Regions from separate parts of the Homo sapiens genome. Here all the other regions are linked to region 2. The links are contacts of gene promoters, found by promoter capture Hi-C in human tissues and cell types (Jung and others, 2019). All regions are on one chromosome and are shown on one strand. Each heading gives the region's core, a stretch centred on a gene start or on the middle of the fragment in contact. The rest is flanking DNA. Distances are from core to core; before and after follow the strand shown.

Evidence for each region. The method cuts DNA at HindIII sites, captures the fragments that hold promoters and counts their contacts. A contact is called where the count stands out against the background at its distance.
Region 1: a contact is called between a fragment that was not itself captured here and the fragment with the promoter of CLU in region 2, in 1 of the 25 tissues and cell types used here (hippocampus).
Region 3: a contact is called between a fragment that was not itself captured here and the fragment with the promoter of CLU in region 2, in 2 of the 25 tissues and cell types used here (mesendoderm cells and thymus).

The regions. Positions count from the first base shown.
Region 1 is chr8:28,091,287-28,094,027 of GRCh38, forward strand. ELP3 (elongator acetyltransferase complex subunit 3) reads left to right here and starts at 1,853. Exons shown (of 15, transcript NM_018091.6): 1 at 1,853-1,947. The coding sequence starts at 1,929. RefSeq lists enhancers at 1,434-1,987, 1,479-1,528. The HindIII fragment of the contact is 3,393 bases long and covers 1-2,741 here.
Region 2 is chr8:27,613,416-27,616,115 of GRCh38, forward strand. CLU (clusterin) reads right to left here and starts at 1,285. Exons shown (of 9, transcript NM_001831.4): 1 at 1,240-1,285. RefSeq lists enhancers at 917-1,416, 2,373-2,700 and a silencer at 1,439-1,528. The HindIII fragment of the contact is 13,101 bases long and covers 1-2,700 here.
Region 3 is chr8:27,902,520-27,905,389 of GRCh38, forward strand. SCARA5 (scavenger receptor class A member 5) reads right to left here. Exons shown (of 9, transcript NM_173833.6): 7 at 2,259-2,315. It overlaps LOC105379342 (a long non-coding RNA gene), which reads left to right and starts at 154. Exons shown (of 2, transcript NR_188147.1): 1 at 154-405. The HindIII fragment of the contact is 6,484 bases long and covers 1-2,870 here.

The sequences.
Region 1 (2,741 bases), core at 29-2,528, 480 kb after region 2:
TAGCAGCTCCTGAATTCTAAAAAGGAGGAGGGAATAAGGAGGCATGTCCAACCCCACTTCCCATCATGGCCTGAGCTAGTTTTTCAGTTTAACTTTGGAATGCCCTGGGCTGAGAATTATTTTCGGTTTACAGAGGAGAACTTATGTTCATTGGTATAGGATGACAATGAGGTCAGACAAATACCACTGAACTTGGCAGGCTGGGAAGTTACAAAGCTTAGCAAGGCCAGTTTCAGTGTCATAGTGGGGTCAAAGCCTCGTTGTTGCCTCAATTCTAGTAGGGTACATATTCCTGTCTTTATTAATGGGAGAGGTTCTTAATCTCCAGCCCATGGACAAAGGAGATCATAGATGGGTTTCAGGAAAACATCCCAAGTCCTGCCTCCAAATTTTGCAAAATTTTGTGCCTGTGTATTTTTCTGGAGAACGTAAACCAAACAGTGTCTGAGACAGGTCTCAGTCTGGAGGTTTATTCTGCCAAGGTTGAGGACACACCCAGGAAAAAGAGACATAAGTTATCATGGAATCTGTGGCCTGTGGTTTTTCCAAAGAGGGTTTTGAGGACTTCAATATTTAAAGGGAAAGAGCAGACAGAAGGGGAAAGAGGAACAACTATGCATTCATTTCACACTCAGTAAATCTGCCTTTTACAGAAGACAAAGTAAACATAGAGGAAGGAGTCAAATATGCATTTTTCTTGGGGTGGACTGAAGGGTGATTTCTAGTCTTGTCCTTGTCCCCTACCTACTGTAAATTTGCATGGTCAGGGTGGAATTCAACAGAAGTGTTGTAAGGTAAAGACTCTGCCACTCACAAGGAATTTCCCTGTGAGCAACTCCTCTGGGAGGCCACCTAGGGAGATATGTGGGCTTCTGTCTTTGCAGCTGTTTAGGAACAGAAGGAAGGCAGTTTTTGCGTGACTCAGTTCACAAGCTTAACTTTTTGTTGTTGTTGTTGTTGTTGAGACAGGGTCTCGCTCTGTCGTCTAGGCTGGACAACAGAGAATGATCTCCACTCACTGCAACCTCCACTTCCGGGTTCAAGAGATTCTCCTGCCTTAGCCTCCCAAGTAGCTGGGATTACAGGCGTGCACCACCACGCCTGGCTAATTTTTGTATTTTTAGTAGAGACAGGGTTTCACCATGTTGACCAGGGTGGTCTTGAATGCCAGACCTCAGATGATCTGCTGGCCTTGGCCTCCTGAGATGGGCATAGTGCTAGTATTACATGTGTGAGCCACTGCGCCCGGCCCTAAGCTTAACTTTTTTCTTTGGCAGAGTTTAGGGTCCCGAGATGTTATTTTCCTTCCACAAGAGACATCCACAGCTTTCACGATGGTTACCGATCATATGTGCCATTCATCTAAGACCAAGGTGACCACCTGGTCCCAAAGCCTGCACCTCGGATTCTTACTCGATTCCCGCCTGGTCTCTTCCAGGCCCTCAGTTAGTTTCCACAACATGGGAGGGTTCCTCCTCCGTGGTCTCGCCCATTCGCGTTCCCACCCACCCTCCCCGGATGTGACGACCCTGGGCTCCCACTCCCCCCCATGAGAGACCATCCACTTCCACCCTTTCACTTAGGCTTCCTGGCGCAGCCTCTATCCAGGAACTCTGTCCCATAGCTGTACTGCCCAGGTCGAGCTTTCTAACCCCAAGATGCCACTCCGTTCAGACGTTCCCATCCTCCATCCCTGAGACCCGGGGCAGGATCGCAGCCTAGGGGCCTCACGGGCCGCCTGCTACCCTGTTAGTTGCAACACGGGGCGGGGCGTGGCTTTGTGCACGTCGGCTTCCGGGAAGAGCTTTACGATACATTGACCGACATTTTACGACAGGCGGGATTGTTTTGTGGCTGTCAGCTTTCCCCGTGGTCTGAGTTTGTGGCTGCATTTTTATCTCTGGTGGCTCTGCTACGGCGGCGCAGAAATGAGGCAGAAGCGGAAAGGTGCGAAAGGGGAAGGAGATGGGGGAAAGGGGTGGTCCGAAAGGGGCGAACGCCCAGGCAATCAAATGCTGAACCGAACTTTTACCGCGAGAATCCGCTACCCAGTCCAGTCGCCCCGCCACCTAGGGTCAGTGTGTCCATTCTGGTCCCCGAGCCTTCTCGTTTTTCCTGTTTTGCTTTTTGAAGCACCCTACCCTTCCTCTCTTCCTCTTTGGCAGTCACGTGGTGTCTTGTTTGAATGGCAGGGAAACCATTATTCCAATATATGCCCTCCGAGGAGTTAACGTCGATTTAACGGGTTGTAGGACTTTTCATTTGTTAAGATTTGTTTCACGACACATTTGACGTGTTAGAGAGTTTCTTTTAAAGCCTTATTTTAAGATATTAAAAAAACCTTAATTATCCTTGGATTCAGTGTAAGAGTTGTGCATGCAATTATTCCCATTTTTATTACATCATGAGTTAGCAATGAACAATTCCACCTTTGGTTTTTCAACAGGACGGATTCAAATTTGAAATATTCTCTCACAGGTTCTGTTCCTATTTCTGTATCTCACAGGTTCTGTTCCTATTTCATTTGACCAGCTGGTCTAATCATGGTAATTGTTGTCAGAATAATAGCTACCATTTATTGAGCTTGTATTTTGAAGTCGGTATCATTTCCATTTTACAGATGAAGAAGCTGAGATTCAAAGAGTTAAGTAACTTTCCCAGACCAAAATTATACTTAGATATGGAGCTGGCTGGTCAGGCTGTATCTGTGACCTCAAAAAACATAAAATGAAAAATAAATA
Region 2 (2,700 bases), core at 35-2,534:
AGAAAGAAAATCAATGACTGTGAACAGGGAGCCGTGGGGAGGATGGGAAGACAGTGAAGAGGGCACACAGATGGTGAGGGTTTCAATCCCAAAGCCCCGGCTCCTATCTGCTTCTTCAAATGGAGAAAACTAAACCAAAAGGAAAATAAGAAAAATAATCACCGGTAATTCATATCACCCAGAGGCAAAGGTTAGCACTGTGGTATATTTCCTTCTGTCTTCCATGCAGTTTATACAAGATTCTTCACATTCACCATCTTCAAATATTCTTTAAGGGCATACTTTTATGGCTATGTAATACTCCACTTACTCACGGACCTAAGTTTATTTTACCATTCTCACAAGATTGGCCATTTCAGTTGTGCCCAATGCTCCACTATTATTATAACTTAACATTTTCATGGGCATCTTTTTTTATATAGTATCTGTACTTTCCTTTAAATTCCTAACCTCTCCGTTTAAAAAATAATAATAAAAATCATATTTTTTTTAACTAGGTCCAGAAATTCTGGAAGGTCAAGAGGCTTTGGCTCGAATCCCAATTCTGATACTTATTTGCTGTTTAGTGTTGGCACCAGTCCTAAACCTCTCCAGGCCTCAGATTATCATCTGTAAAATGAGACTGTGGAATCAGAGGTCTGAGGCCTGGTGGATCTTGTGTGACTTTTCTCTGATGCACCTCAGATGCATTAGGAGGCAGAAAAAGTCGGATTTCGGTGGTTGCAGCATATACTGAAATCCGCAGCCTCATACTTACAGGCAACAGTGTCCAGAGAGCTAGAGAATTTAGAAGAAAACTAGATGACTCATGCATGCAAGCCGAAAGCCACAACTGAGAGATCCGCATCTTCGCAGAGGATATGCTGCAGGAAGGAGCTCGGTGCAGGCCAGCTCTGTCACCTGCTAGCCTGGGTCTCCCGCAACGCGGCAGGTCTCCAGGTCTCAGTTTCCCCATCTTTGCGAAAGGATGATCATTATATCTGTTCTATTTACCCCCCCACCACAGAATTGTGGTTGGAGCTCGTGCTCTCAGGCGGCGGTTGCGCCGGGGCCCCTGGCTCAGCTGCCTGGTGATGGGGCTCCGGCCACCTCCCCTCCCTGGCTTCCTGGGCTCCGTCGAAAGCGCAGGGGTTGTGACTGCGAGCTGTGTCATCCCTCTCTGCCTGGCTGCCATCCCCTGCCCGCCCATCCGTCCTGGTGTGGCTCTGCTCAAGGGTAGGGAAGACGGGGACATCTCACCGGTCAGCGGCACCCTGTGCCCGCGCGCTCCTCCTGGCGACGCCGCGTTGTGGGCACTGGGAGGCGCCGTATTTATAGCGCTCTGCTCGCGCACACACCCCCTTTGGGGCTGGCTGCAAACCTGCATGACTCACGCCCAAAGAATGCCGCGGAAAGCAAGGGGAGCTTTCTGGAAGCCGGGAGGTGGGGGCCGGTGCAGCACCGGGCTGGGGGCGCCGGGGGGCGCATCATCACCACGAATAGCTGTGCTGGCTCCAGGAGAGACCCTGAGGTGCGGCCGCTCGGCGCTTCCAGTAGGGAAGAGCCTGAACTCGCGTGCCCATCTGGGAGCCCCTCTCACGCGGTTAGCCCGGCTGTCTGTCCCAGTCCAAGACACAATCTCACAGTTCCCTGGCCCTACTGACCTTAACCTTCACATTACACAAGCGCCACTTCTCTTGACCCATTTAAATAGTAAAGAGTCAGACATAATGAGGGTGGGATGGAGAGGGGCCTTGTGCTGGAGAAGAGAGCACAGGAAGTATTGAAACGCCTACTCCTGGAAACATCACACTGATGGGGGTCCCTGGACTGACCCGCCAGGCCTGGAGGAAACAGAATTGTGTTTAGGAGTGATCAGAGCAGATATGTGGAGAGCCAGAAGGCCTCTCCGGGGTCCTTGATCCACAGAGCTTAAGCAATCACTGTCCCCATCTTTTTGGAACCCAACCAAGCAGGGTGGGCTTCATGGCTGTGGGACCCTTGCAGATCCACGTTTGGTTTAATGGGCTACTGTGACGGTCTTGAAATTCTTCATAGTTTTTGAACCAGTGGACCTGAATTTTTATTTTGCCCTGAGCCTTCCCAGTTAGGAAATCAGATCTGTGTCCAGAGGGGTTTGCTGGTCTCCAACTGCTGGAGTTCCTTCTGCTGAGAGCAGGGAGAATCTCCTGTCGCAGCCACCCCTCCCCCTGGCAAGGAGGGGCAAATCTAGGAACCCTGGAGGTGCAGCTACTTCTTGGGGAAGAAAGTGAGCTGCCCATTTTGGAGCCAGGGATGTTTAAGCCCCAGGAGAGAAGTCAAGGGGCTGACAGCTGGGGCAATGGGTGGACAGGGCGGGTACAGGCAGCCCCACTGTGGGTGGCAGACTTTGAAAACCATGTGAAACAAAGGGGCTTAAAGGAGAGCTGCGTGGTCAGGGGCTGAGTTTTCCAGTTCAGGATCAGGACTATGGAGGCACAACATGGAGGCCCAGTCCCTTGCTTGCCCAACGTCCAGGGGCCACTAGGACCCCAGTCCTTTTCAGGAGGCAGCCTCGGGGAATCTTCAAGGCCCATGACTAAGTGGGAGAACCCAGACCAGGTCCATGAAAGTCTGATTACAGTCCTAGGTGTGCCCCTAGACACTGGGTGACCTCGGACTAATCACTTTGCCCTTGGGCCTCAGTTTCTTCCATCTGGACGATGAGGAATCGGGAATGGA
Region 3 (2,870 bases), core at 124-2,623, 290 kb after region 2:
CAAGTCTGCTGAAAGAAGAGCCACCAGAGAATTCCCAACAAGAGCCCCTCTGGCATGCGGGCAGTGTTTCTGATCTCAAAGCCATCTTTCCACATAGTTCCTCCCTTCCTGCCCACCCCCATCAGGAGTTGTTTATTTCTCAGAACTAAATGCCACGATCCTTCTCAGCTACCTTGGCAGCATTCTGTCAGAAACCAGTCAACAAACAGAGCAGGGAAAAACAGCACCCCGAAGACAGCATTCAGGACCCAGCCCTTTAGACAAAAGGGATCAGATCAGGTCTACTAGATGGCCTCATTCAGTCAGACACACCCAGTTAAGCAGCCCTGGAAAGGGACTCTAGAGAATGCTAGAAGTACTGTGAAGCTCGCAGATGGCCTTGTGGACTTTAGCACTTCAGGTGAGGTGAGTGTGGGGGGTCCAGGATCAGCCTGGGCATTTCCTTGTTTTTCTACGGGCAAGTCCATCACTTTCAAGGACAAGGTGCTGTCACCTGCCTTGCTCCTATTTGATCCTGAATCATGCCTCAGGGAGGGGAGGGCAGGGCAGAGAGAAAGCAGGGGCAAGTTTAAGTGTCAGGGGGCCTTGGGGAGGCCTCTTTTTGGGAGTGAGGTCTCCTTCTGGTCCTGCACAGCTGGGACTAAAGTGTGATGTGAAGGGCCTACTGCACCATACCATCCTGAGTGTGCTTGATCTCATCTGAAGGACCTAGTGAGACCAAGGAAGCATGAAAATAGCAGACCATTCAGCTGTAGTTTACATCTCAGCTGATATGAGCAACTGAAGAGAAGGCAGTTGAAGTGTCTGATGTGTACTGCATGGCCAAGAGTAATCGTGTAATGATCTGGAGGATTAGGCAGGCACCAAGAAGTGAGCCAAAGTTTCATCATATAGAAATGTTAGATGGTGTGGGAAGATCAATGAATGAGTAATTAATAATTTTTATTAGCGGGTGTGTTTTGCAGGTCTTGGCCATTAGTGTTCTTCTAGTTGAAGCACAACAATAATTTTTCATGTCATTAGTCATGGTTATCGCCCATGTGGGAATAATGGCATATGCTCTATTTGTTTTAAGTGTCCTTTTGGTTGTAGGATTTGTAGGTTTCTCTTCGAAACCTTCTCCTATTTATGGAGGCCTATGGCTAATTATTAGTGGTGCTGTAGGTTGTGGTATTGCGTTGAATTTTGGTGGGGCTGATAGTCTTTGATTTATTTGGGTGTCATGAGACCCCTTTCTGTGTCCAGCTTGTGACTCTGCAGTGGCCCCTGTCCCTGAGTGTCCGGGGGGAAGCTATTAACACAGGGACTCTTTCCCCAGGCCCCATCCTCCCAGAGCCAAGACCGGAGCCTAGATGCCAGAGGCAGTGATATTCTGCTTGCGCCCTCACGTGGGACAGAGCCAACTAACACCACATGCTGGGTTTGGTGTTTTTTCTTTTGCTCCTTTTTAAACTTGGCTAGGAGACTCTGTTCATTCTTCTCTGGCAAGTCTCCAAGATTCTACATGTAGCCCTCTCTAGGGGAAAAGTAAACCTTAGAAGAGTGGCACAACTAAATAAGCTGATCCCCTTGTCAACATTCTAGCAAGGACCGCATCAGAAAGATGCCCATTACTAACAGGGTGGTCTGCCGGATCGCAAGCTCTCCAGCGTCACTCCTCCATCAGTGGCAAATGGGGAAAACAAAGGCGATGCCACTTTGTCTCTGCACCTTTCCCTGTGTAACACCCAGGGAGGGGAGGCCTTTAACAAGGTCAGTAGCTGAATTTGTGCAAGCACCTCTGATGATTTTAGGAAGCGTGTCTGAGTGGGTGTATTACACAGAATAATAATCACAAACAGGTACTGAGTCCTCACCAGGTGTCCAGCATGATCATAAGCACTTTACACAGATTAACTCATTCAATTTTCACAATGACCTTATAAGGTAAAGACTCCTGTTATCCCTATTTTATAGATGAGAACACTGAGGCACAGAGATTATACCAGCTGGGCTAGCGAGTGACCGGGGGAAGCCTCCAGATCCATGCACACAACCGCCAGGTTTATGACACCTCTAGAAATGTGGCCAGTGCCCCTGGGGTCTATCAGCATCTCTTGCTAGACCAGCAGAGCCCTAAAAAAGGTAGGGAGCCTCCTTTGACACTTGAGCCCCAGCCATGGCTCCAGCCTCTGAACCTCCAAACTTATGGGGCTGCTTGGGGGACAGCTAGCCCTGTGCCAACACCATATCCCACGGCCCCAGCAGAATGTCCTTACTGGCATCCCCAGCTCTGTCTCCTTTCTCTCCTTTCTCTCCTTTTGGGCCTCGGTCACCTAAAACAGAGGAGGAAACTGGCATTAGAAATGGAAAGAAATCCTAATTGTGAATAAAATATTACCTGCAGGAGATTGATGAACTCGAGACCAGAGAAACCCTCAGGCAGGAGCCAGCAGCAACTGGAGAGCCCAGCAGGCAGGAGAAGAGGGCAGCCAATTCTGCCATCTGCCCTGGGTACCCCAAGAAGGAGGAGGCATGAGTGAGAAAATCCCACCCGTTTGTAAAGAACCAAAGAGCACATGGAATTTTGCAGGAAGAAGACAAGTCAAAGATAGTCCTATTAAACACTCAAGGTTTTAGAGGTCCACATCCAAGTTTGTTCTAATGAGCCCAGGGGAAAACAAAGGAGAGGGGGCTTTAGTTAAATAGGGGGAGAGGCGGGTTCTATGTTGAGCAGGTTTTCTTGTGGGAGAGACCATAAAACATAAGTGTGAGATACCAGGGAATTGTGGCATTTCCTTCCCAGGATATGGCTAAAGAAGACCTGTTTGGCCAGCTGGCATCTCCCTCTACAAAGAAGTAGAAAATCCTGGCACCACTCACTGGACATT